Linked DNA regions of Homo sapiens: region 1 is linked to region 2. Evidence: promoter capture Hi-C in human tissues and cell types (Jung and others, 2019). All regions are on one chromosome and are shown on one strand. The core of a region is centred on a gene start or on the middle of the fragment in contact, and the rest is flanking DNA. Distances in the headings are between cores, read along the strand shown.

The links. The method cuts DNA at HindIII sites, captures the fragments that hold promoters and counts their contacts. A contact is called where the count stands out against the background at its distance.
Region 1: a fragment that was not itself captured here is called in contact with the fragment with the promoter of PLIN1 in region 2 in 1 of the 25 tissues and cell types used here (liver).

The regions. Positions count from the first base shown.
Region 1 is chr15:90,210,987-90,216,310 of GRCh38, reverse strand. All of the region lies in intron 1 of SEMA4B (semaphorin 4B), which reads right to left. Among named protein-coding and RNA genes, the nearest start is that of SEMA4B, 12 kb to the right of the region's middle. RefSeq lists silencers at 1,380-1,674, 3,619-3,793 and an enhancer at 3,857-5,056. The HindIII fragment of the contact is 4,496 bases long and covers 1,218-5,324 here.
Region 2 is chr15:89,676,519-89,681,440 of GRCh38, reverse strand. It overlaps PLIN1 (perilipin 1), which reads left to right and starts at 2,074. Exons shown (of 9, transcript NM_002666.5): 1 at 2,074-2,190; 2 at 3,938-3,996. The coding sequence starts at 3,952. The HindIII fragment of the contact is 12,360 bases long and covers 1-4,922 here.

The DNA of each region.
Region 1 (5,324 bases), core at 2,216-4,715, 530 kb before region 2:
AAATAGTGGTGTAAGTATTTTACTTAAAAATATGGAGGAAATGGGCTGGGCGTGGTGGCTCACACCTATAATCCCAGCACTTTGGTGTGGATCACCTGAGTTCGAGACCAGCCTGACCAACATGGAGAGATCCCGTCTCTACTAAAAATATAAAATTAGCCAGGCGTAGTAGCACATGCCTGTAATCCCAGCTACTCGGGAGGCTGAGGCAGGAGAATCGCTTGAACCTGGGATGCAGAGGTTGCGGTGAGCTGAGATCACACCATTGCACTCCAGCCTGGGCAACAAGAGTGAAACTCCATCTCAAAAAGAAAAAAAAAAAATGGAGGAAATAATGGTAGAACAAGAACCCTAAGAACCCTAAATGATTAAAAGTCCCTTTTAAATTGGCCTGGGGTGAGGGAGGACAGACGTTTTTGCTTTTTATAATAAGCCCTTCTATACTTAAAAATATATATATACGTGCATGTATCCTTGATACAAATTTTATTTATTTTTTGAGACTGAGTCTCACTCTGTTGCCCAGGCAGGAGTGCACTGGCATGATCTCGGCTCACCGCAACCTCCGCCTTCCAGGTTCGAGCAATTCTTCTGCCTCAGCCTCCCGAGTAGCTGGGATTACAGGCATGTGCCACCATGCCCGGCTAACTTTTGTATTTTTAGTAGAGACAGGGTTTTGCCATGTTGGCCAGGCTGGTCTCGAACTCCTGGCTTCAAGCAATCCGCCTGCCTCAGCCTCCCGAAGTGCTGGGATTACAGGTGTGGGCCACTGCGCCCAGACCTTGGTACACATTTTAAGTAGCTTTTGTTTTTGCAGAATAACAACAAGGAAAGACACGAATTATCTACCATGAAGTGAAAATTCAGGTTATATTTAGTATGTATGGTCAAATTCTATTTTTTGTGGGAAAAATATAAGCATAGGAAAAAAATCCAGAAGGATGTATCACAAAACACTAAAACATGGGCTCCCTGGTAGAATTACAGGTAGCTTTCTTTTCTTTTTTACTTGTTATCATTTTTAGATTCTCTAATAAGCAGGTTATCCTTATATAATGTGAAATATATAAATCAAAGAAAAAAAAAAAGAAACACACACACACTTACCCACCAGGGTACTGTTTATGCTTTGGGTAACTAAAGGGTTTGGAGAGAAATTATTTTTAAAATTCTAAGCAGCTGATGAGAACACAAAAACAAGCAAAGAGCAGCACCCTGACCACCCTCAGGCACGTTGTAGCGGACCAGTGGGTTATGACCACACAAACAGTCTCACGAAGCTGAGGAAGCAAAAAGTGCAACACGCCCAATCAAGCAGCTGTGAAGATGACTTCATGTGTGTTTACCTGTGGAGTGTTTTTACATACCCCCAGCCTGGTTCCATAAAGGGTGGGGAGACATGAAGAAAAGAAAGTAGTGAAATATAAACATTAAAATCAGGAGCAGAGAAAACCCAAATCTGAAGAAAAACATCTCCATCAGCAAGGAAGTAAAAATTCACGAGTAGGTCAATGAGTCTTCGCACAGCTGGTAGAGAAGGGCTGAGCCTTTAGTGCTGGGCCTCCTGGTGGCCAAAGAAAAATGGGAAATGAAGCTACTCCATCCTCAATGTCCATAAGGAGGAACACATATCAGCCATTTGGGGGAAGCTCAGCCTTTTTTTTTTTTTTTTTTTTTGAGATGGTGTTTTGCTGTTGTTGCCCAGGCTGGAGTGCAATAGCACAATCTTGGCTCACCGCAACCTCCGCCTCCCAGGTTCAAGCGATTCTCCTGCCTCAGCCTCCTGAGTAGCTGGGATTACAGGCATATGTCACCACGCCCGGCAAAGTATTTTTAGTAGAGACGGGGTTTCTCCATGTTGGTCAGGCTGGTCTTGAACTCCTGACCTCATGTGATCCACCCGCCTCGGCCTCCCAAAGTGCTGGGATTACAGGCGTGAGCCACCACGCCCAGCAGCTCAGCCCTTTTTTTTTTTTTTTTTTGAGACGGAGTTTCTCTCTTGTTGTCCAGGCTGGAGTGCAATGGTGCAACCTACACCTCTCAGGTTCAAGCGATTCTCCTGCCTCAGCCTCCCAAGAAGCTGGGATTACAGGTGCCTGCCACCATGCCCAGCTAATTTTTGTATTTTCAGTAAAGTCAGGGTTTCATCATGTTGGCCAGGCTGGTCTCTCGTACTCCTGACTTCAGGTGATCCGCCTGCCTCAGCCTCCCAAAGTGCTGGGATTATAGGCCTGAGCCACCGCGCCCAGCCGAAGCTCAGCTTTACACCTGGCAGCAAATGGGGAAGGAAGCCCTCGGGTGGGGGTGACACTAGTTAACAGGATGACGGGGGTCAGGTGGCTGAGCCACCGAGCCCGGCCCTCAAGTAGGCCCTTCTGTCAGGCAGCAGAGACATCGTCTCAATGAGCTGCAGTTTCTCATACATGTCACGGGAGGAATGAGACATATAAAGATCACAGGAGTCTCAAGAGGAGTGAGACCAAGACAGACACTGCGGTCCCTTCTTATCTTTTGGATTTTTCCATAGTTCTCTGGAAGCAAGGGCTGGTTCAGATAAGCTGGTTGCCCGTGCTTATCTACCTGCAAAAGAGCGTTTCCACCTGGGCAGGCCCTGTAAGTCTGGGCAGCAGACCGCCCTTGGAATCTGTCCAGACAAAGAAATGCCAAGAGTCAGAGATAAGCCTCAGTCCCAGGTGGCAACTCAATCCCACTTACGCCTGGGAGAAGGGGTGGAAACCTGCCTCGGGCACTACAGAGTGCAGCCGGCTGGAGGGGAAACCTATAGACCAGCCAGTCCCTGGTTCAGCCCAGGCCTCCAAACGAGCCAGCCACAAGCCCTCCAGCCATGCTGGGAGTAGAGTGAATGAAACGACAAAGGGACAGAAAGGGGAATGTGCCTTGGAGAGGGGGGTGAAGGGCCCCTTAACCAGGCTTTCCCCTTCTGGGGCTTCCCTTCCACACTTGCCTCATCTCTCTGCCCTGAGAGTCAGACTGAAAGCCATGGTGTGCAGAGTAGAGTTAGAGACCTGGGTTCAAAGCCATCCTCTACCACTTACTGGCTGTGTGCCACCAGGACACGCCACTTAACCTCTCAAAGCCCCGTTTTCCTTATCTGTAAAATGGGGAAAATAATAACACTTTGCCTCATGGGGTTGTTATTAGAAAAAATGAGATTACGTATGTAAATAATAATATACATAATAACCCACATTTACTGAGACAGCTTTGCTAAAACAACGTTGCACATGGTTTGCAGTGTGGCATGGTGTCTGGCACGCGACCAACACTCAATGAGTGACTCAAAAACAAAATCCAAAAGCCCCGCAGGAAAATCCGGCCCGGTGAGAGCTGGCAGAAGGGCAGGGCTCCTTGCGGGAGTCGGGCCTCCCTCATCCAGGGGGTTCACGAACTTAGCCTGGGCGATTCTAACTTAGGCACGCACCTGGTCACACGAGGGTCTCATGGCCAAAGCCAGACGGCATCAGCTCAGAAACAGAGACTTGCGTGTCACAGGCTCGTGTTGTGGGCGCGAGCTGGTCTGTGCTCGGTGTGAGTGGTGTTACTGTCTAAGGGCCCAGGTGCTTGGGTCACCTCCAGAGTGACTGCAGACGTCTGTGAAGGACCCTGCCTGAGCTTGCCTGTGGTGTGTGTGTGTGTGTGTGTGTGTACACGGTACCGCAGGGCTTGTCCACGCTTGCGCACTCACTCCTAGGTGCTCTTTGTGCAGGGGTGGAGGTGTTTCTGCACTTTACTTCCTGCGAGGGGCTGGCGCACCTTGGGGTCAGTCTTAAGCTTTTATGCTCTCCCTTGTGTCAAAGAGTGTCTCGCTCGCTCTCCTGGGCTGCCTGTGCTGCTCGGACATCCTCTAAATCCATCTATCCAGTGGGTTAGTCCAGTATGAAGAAAGCAGGGCACGCCGAGGCTGCGGCCGGTTTTCCCATTCAGGGTGAACCCTCTCCCTCCACCCCGACAGGCTTCAGCCAGGGGCTTCACCAAGGCCAGTGCATCCCACTAGGCAGATCATCCTTCAAAAAGGCAGACCGGGGCTGGTCTGGGGCTGCCCTGTCCCTCCCTGGAGGGAGACGGCACATGGAATGGGCACATAAGAGTCACCTGCAGGGTCCCCACTCCCCACCCCAGGAAGTGGGGTTCTGAGTAGGAAGTGGGGTTCTGAGTAGGAAGTGATGTGGGAATACTCAGCCCTCAGCCCCATGTAAGGGTCCTCCTTCCCTGTGACTCAGCCGGAAGCCTGGAGCTCTCTGGGGTGAGACAGGAATAGGGCTCAGCACCATCCCCACCCTGGTTAGTCCCCACCCCAGGCCAGCCAGCTAGCTGCAGCAGCGCTGTGACTCAGAACCCCACCCCACCTTTCTCTCTACTGTGGCTCCGGGCACGGCAGCAAGACGCTGACCTGGCCCTAACATCCCACCCTCTACAGGCCCCAGCAGGATCAGGCCAGAAAACACCAGCTTCCCTGTGGAGTCGGTGGGGAAGGGGCCTCCAATGCAAGGAGGCAGCCAGTGGCCTCCCCCACTCTCAGAGAGGGGTCTGGGCGGGACAAGTCCCCAGAGAGCCTCCTGAAAGGCTGTTGTAGCCCTTCGTCCCCAGGGATGTCACGATAAGTCACCAGAACCTTGGACCCACTTACCCCAGCAGCAGCCCCACCTCCAGGGCAGGAGTGCTGACGGGGCCACAGTCAGCAGGAAACTGGGACACACTGCCAACCTGGGTGCACTTCCTTCCTCCACACGGCCCGTGTTGGGCAGGGCAGCCACTTCTTCCTCATGGAGCATGGAGGAGGGGGCCACATTCTGCTGACACCAGCCCAGTGCCAGAGTCGAGTCCCTGACCAGGGACTCTGGGCAGAGGTTGGGGGTATTGTGTGCCAAGGGTCCTCCCATGGACTGAGGTCACCAAGAAAGTGGCAACGAGGGCAAGGGAACCTGGCCTCACAGCATCTGTGCTCCTGGGGCATGCCCCGGAAAGCCATTGCTACAGCCCCAAGTGGGCAGACGAAGAGCCTCTGCCAGAACCCCCAGGCAGTCCCAGTCCCGACCTAGGGCCTGTGCCATGGGTGCACAGACCACTGCCGTCACCTTAGGAGCCTGCCTGCCGCCTGCCTGCTCACAGGTCTACACAGGGACACGCTCAGTCCCTCTGCTCAGGGGCTGGCTCCCCTCTAACAACCCGGCTTCTAGGGCCTCTGCCCTGGGTCTGCCTTCCTGCTTTTATAGATGTCTCCACTTCTTCCAAGGAAATCGGGGTCATCAGGCATAAACAACCTCAACTTCCCACCCCATCTCCTCAGAGACCAAATCCTATGT
Region 2 (4,922 bases), core at 825-3,324:
CAGCGAGCTCTGGGCTAGAAGATCCAGGCTGAGGAGGAGGATGGAGAAAGATTGAGATGTAGAGCCTCTGGGTTGAGAGGGACCTCTGAAATGAACTCATCTAGACTGCTGCCATGGAGATGGTGCTCTACAGTAGCCCTGTCAATCGCTGGCTGGCTTCTGCCTAGGTAAGTCTGCCTTGAATTCATGGTGGTATGTTATGTTACAGTGGTATCCATCTTGGTACTTTTGTCCTCTGCAATGGTGAGTGGTGGGGAGTTTGGGAAATACTACCTCTTCTAAGAGGTTTGTGTAAACCTTAATGGTGTCCTGGTACCACCCTGTGAATCCTTCTTTGTAACTAATGTTTTCCACCCCAGAGCCTCCACATTCATGAGGGATGCCAAAAATCGAAGAAGTTCTTCGTAGATGTACAGCCCAGCACATTCACAACTGAGCATTGTTGCCTGACAATTCATTTATTCAACAATGAATGTTTGAGTGCCATGCATGGTTTTGGGTATCCACTTGTGAGCAAGATGACCTAGGTCCCTGCTCTCACTTGGTGGAGGGGTAGGGAAAGCAGGTAGGTACGGAGAAGGAAAGAAGATAGAACTCTATGCCCTGCAAGCTACTGCTAGAAAACTAACACTTCTGTCTTCCCTCGGGACTCTCCTAGGCCCTTTCACCACTTCTCACCTCTCACCCACATTCTGCACTCCCAGCTAAAGCAGCCAAAGGACTATTTGATTTGGCAGAGCTTTCAGGCACAAAGCCCTATGTTCCCTCTGGCCCAAAGCCACTACTCTGAAGGCTGAAAACTGCCCTTTGGCTCAGGTTGCTGTCCAGTCACAGCCTCACAGATAATTTGTGCTGAACCTTGAGGTGAGGGCAGAGGCCACTTCTTTAAATACTTTGTCTTCTCTACTGCCTTACATTTGAAAAGCACAGGTTGGATCAATAAGTATTAAACGTATAGCGTATTACTCCTTTGAAGCCTCCCTGCTTGACTCCTCCCTTTCCTGCCTTCTCATTCCCTACTTTATTGCATCACAGATACGTAATTTATTACCAAGGATCTTTCATAATTCCCCACCCCTGCCTCTTTCTTCTCTTGCCCACACTGTGTGACTTAACAGAGTCAACAATACATATAATTCCACCAGCAACAAAGAAAATAAGTTTTGTTTTCCTATTGTCTGTTTTCATGAAGAGGCCCTTCTTAGTTAATCTGAAAGCTATGGCTTATACCATAGTCCTCCATCATATCTAAAGCCAGGAACTAGAACTTGGGCTTGTGCTTGAGTCCTGGGTAAAGAAGGGTTGAGTGGTGCTAATTCTTGGCTGTCTGGGTGCTCTTGATTAGTGATAGAATCCTAGTCAACACTGTCGCTTATCCAGACCCAGGAGAATAAAAATCTACTTGGCTCTCCTACTCTTCATTCTGGTAGCATCTTAGGCCAGGTAAAGTTCAATAAATTTTTTTGAATTCTAAGAAGTGGGAATTCCTCCCTCAACTCAAAGGCTATATTGTCAAAAACTCAACTCCCGGCTCTGTCGCTTCTTCACTGAGGGCAATTTATCTCCATAATCAAAGATGAATACATTCAGATGAACTCTTCTGTGTGGGTTTAAATTTTACTGTTCAGCATTCAGTCTTGCTAGTAAATAAGAAAAGATGAGAGAAATGGATTGAAAACTCCCACAAGACCCTCTATGGAAAAGGAGCCAAAAGATTGCAGAGGTATATAGAACTTTAGAGCTTTTGAGTTTAATGATGTCTATCCCTATACCTTCTTTCTGGAAAGCAGATTTTTGTGAATTGAGGGCAGGAACATTACAGAACTGATGCTTCATGGCTCTGGAATACTAAGTCCTCTGAGCCTGGATCTCCTTCAGCTCTGCCACCTACCTCCTTGTTTGCTAAATGTCCTTAGAGAAGTTAGGATATGCCTGGGGAACCCTGGGTCATATAACCATGACAACTGGCTGACCCTGTTGTCTCTCCCTCTCTGCCCTCCTCTAGCTGGGAGGTGGAAGCAGCATTGCCCAAGCCTCCCAGGAGTGACAGGAATTGTTTCTGCCTGAGGAGACACTCTGCAGCCTGGGCTCTGTGAGACTGAGGTGGCGGTCAGCCGGAGTGAGTGTTGGGGTCCTGGGGCACCTGCCTTACATGGCTTGTTTATGAACATTAAAGGGAAGAAGTTGAAGGTAAGGGCCTCTTGGGGATTTTGCTGGGGATGAAAAACTCTGCAGGGAAACTACTGAGGGAGAGATTCTGGTATAGATACCAGAATCTAGAAATAGAGGAATTGGATAGGCACAGTGGATCATGCCTTTAATCCCAGCACTGCAGGTGGCCAAGGCAGGTGGATCACTTGAGCCCAGGAGTTCAAGAACAACCTGGGCAACACAGTGGGATCCTGTCTCTATAAAAAAAGAGAAAAAATTAGCCCTGCATTGTGGTGCATGCCTGTAGTCCCAGCTACATGAGAGGCTGAGGTGGGAGGGTACCTTGATCCCAGGAGGTCAAGGCTGCATTGAGCCATGATCGTGCCACCACATTCCATCCTGGGCAACAGATTGAGACCCTGTCTCAAAAAACAGATAGGGAGAGGGGGAGAGGGACAGACAGAGAGAAAGAGAGAAATAGAGGAATTAACCCAGAGCCTTTTCAAAGATGAAACCTTTAACTTGTTTATTTATTTTTTTAGAGATGGGCATCTCACTGTATTGCCGAGGCTGATCTCAAACTCCTGGGCTCAAGCAATTCTCCCATGTCAGCCTCAGTAGCTGGGATTACAGGTGCTTGCCAGTGCACCCAGCTTGAAACTTCTTGTTTTAGTCTCTTTTGGACCCTCATTTAAGAGCCTTAAGATTTTATCTAAAACTTTTTATCTCTTATGGCTACCTGCATTTTTTATTTCCTAACCTGAACTCCTTTTTTTTTTTGAGACAGAGTCTCCCTCTGTCACCCAGGCTGGAGTGCAGTGGCAGGATCTCAGCTCACTGCAACCTCCACCTCTCAGGCTCAAGCGATCCTCCTGCCTCAGCCTCCCAAGTAGCTGGGATTACAGCTGCCCACCACCACGTCTGGCTAATTTTTGTATTTTTAGCAGAGACGGAGTTTCACCATGTTGCCCAGGCTGGTCTTGAACTCCTGAACTCAGGTGATCTGCCTGCCTTGGACTCCCAAAGTGCCGGGATTACAGGCCTGAGCCACCGCGCCTGGCCTCTTAACCTGAACTCTTATAGGAAACATTATTCTTGGCCGGGCATGGTGGCTCTTGCCTGTAATCACAGCACTTTGGGAGGCCAAGGTGGGCAGATCACTTGAGGCCAGGAGTTCGAGACCAGCCTGGCCAACATGATGAAACCCCATCTCTACTAAAAATACAAAAATTAGCCAGTGTGGTGGTTCATGCCTGTAATCCCAGCACTTTGGGAGGTCTAGGCAGGTGGATCACTTGAGGTCAGGAGTTCGACACCAGCCTAGCCAACATGGTGAAACCCCATCTCTACTAAACAGAAAAAAAAAAAAAAACTAGCCGGGCGTGGTGGTGGGCGCCTGTAATCCCAGCTACTTGGGAGGCTGAGGCAGGAGAATCCCTTGAACCCGGGAGGCGGAGGTTGTAGTGAGCCGAGATTGTGCAACTACACTCCAGCCTGGGCAACAGAGCAAGAATCCATCTCAAAAAAAAAAAAAAAGAAAGAAAGAAAAGAAAAAGAAAGAAACATCAGTCTTGACAAGTAAGCTATGGAGCAACTCATTGCTATGGGACCCTAAGGAGTGGGGCTATTGTGTGTGATATTCACCCTCCAACCTAATGCCTTCTGTTCAGGGCAAATGGGCCCCCAGGCAGCCTGGGCCTAGTTGGTGGCCATGAGAGGTAGGGAAGTGACCCAGTGGAGCTCAAGCCTGAGGGCTTCTGATGGGACCTGGGACTCTGTTTTGCAGCTTGAGGAGCGAGGATGGCAGTCAACAAAGGCCTCACCTTGCTGGATGGAGACCTCCCTGTAAGTAACTTGGGCTCATCTGTGACAGGGGATGGACAACTGAGGGAGGAGGAAGAAGCAGGGAGGGGAGATGCAGGGGACTTAGAGCAAGATATTCCCAGATTATAATCCTAGTTCATTGACTACCATGGCTTAGTTATTCTTGCCCTCACCACCTTTTGTAGGGGGCAGTTGGAGGATCTGGGAGGGGAAAAAAAGATGCCTATTAAAAATTAAGCACCTTGAAAAAAAGGGACAGAAATCCTGGCTTAGGGACGGGGGGAGTGGAGAGGAAGGAAACTACTGTTTAAACCCTGACGCAGAAGCCCATGCTCTGTCCACCACCCAGCTGGATGTGCATTCAGTGCAGAGCCACTGTATTCTGTGTCTCCAGCATCATTCATAACGGCAAATGTCACCTGTCGGAGTTAGACGGTGCACAGCCTGTGCTGCTGTGTGGGGGGAAGGGTGGGATATTCCATGTGTCTGGTGTTCTATCTCTGACCTGGTTTTCACTGTGACTTGAAGTGATTTGATACTTTTAGGGATGCTTGATGGCTCCTGGCAAGGCATCTCAGATTTGGGCACAGTTCGGATAGTGAAACTTAAAAATTATGAACCTGTGCAATATCCACCTTGCCCAAGTTACGCTTTTACTAACTCCTGCACTAGGAATCACTTTGTTTTGTATTGAATCATAGAACAGAGAGAGGCGTAAAATGGTCAAGTACATGGTTAAGCCATTCTAACAGACGGTGGTTTATTCCCTTCCCAGGATCTCTTTCCTCCTTCGGTTTTGTGTAAAACAACCTCTGAAGCCTCGTCCAAAATGTTAAAAAGAATGTTTTCTTGTTTATAGTCATAGTCTATTTCTAGTTCAAATTTCAAATTCACCTGCAGGATAAAAAACTAAGATATTGGCCAGGTGCAGTGGCTCACGCCTGTAA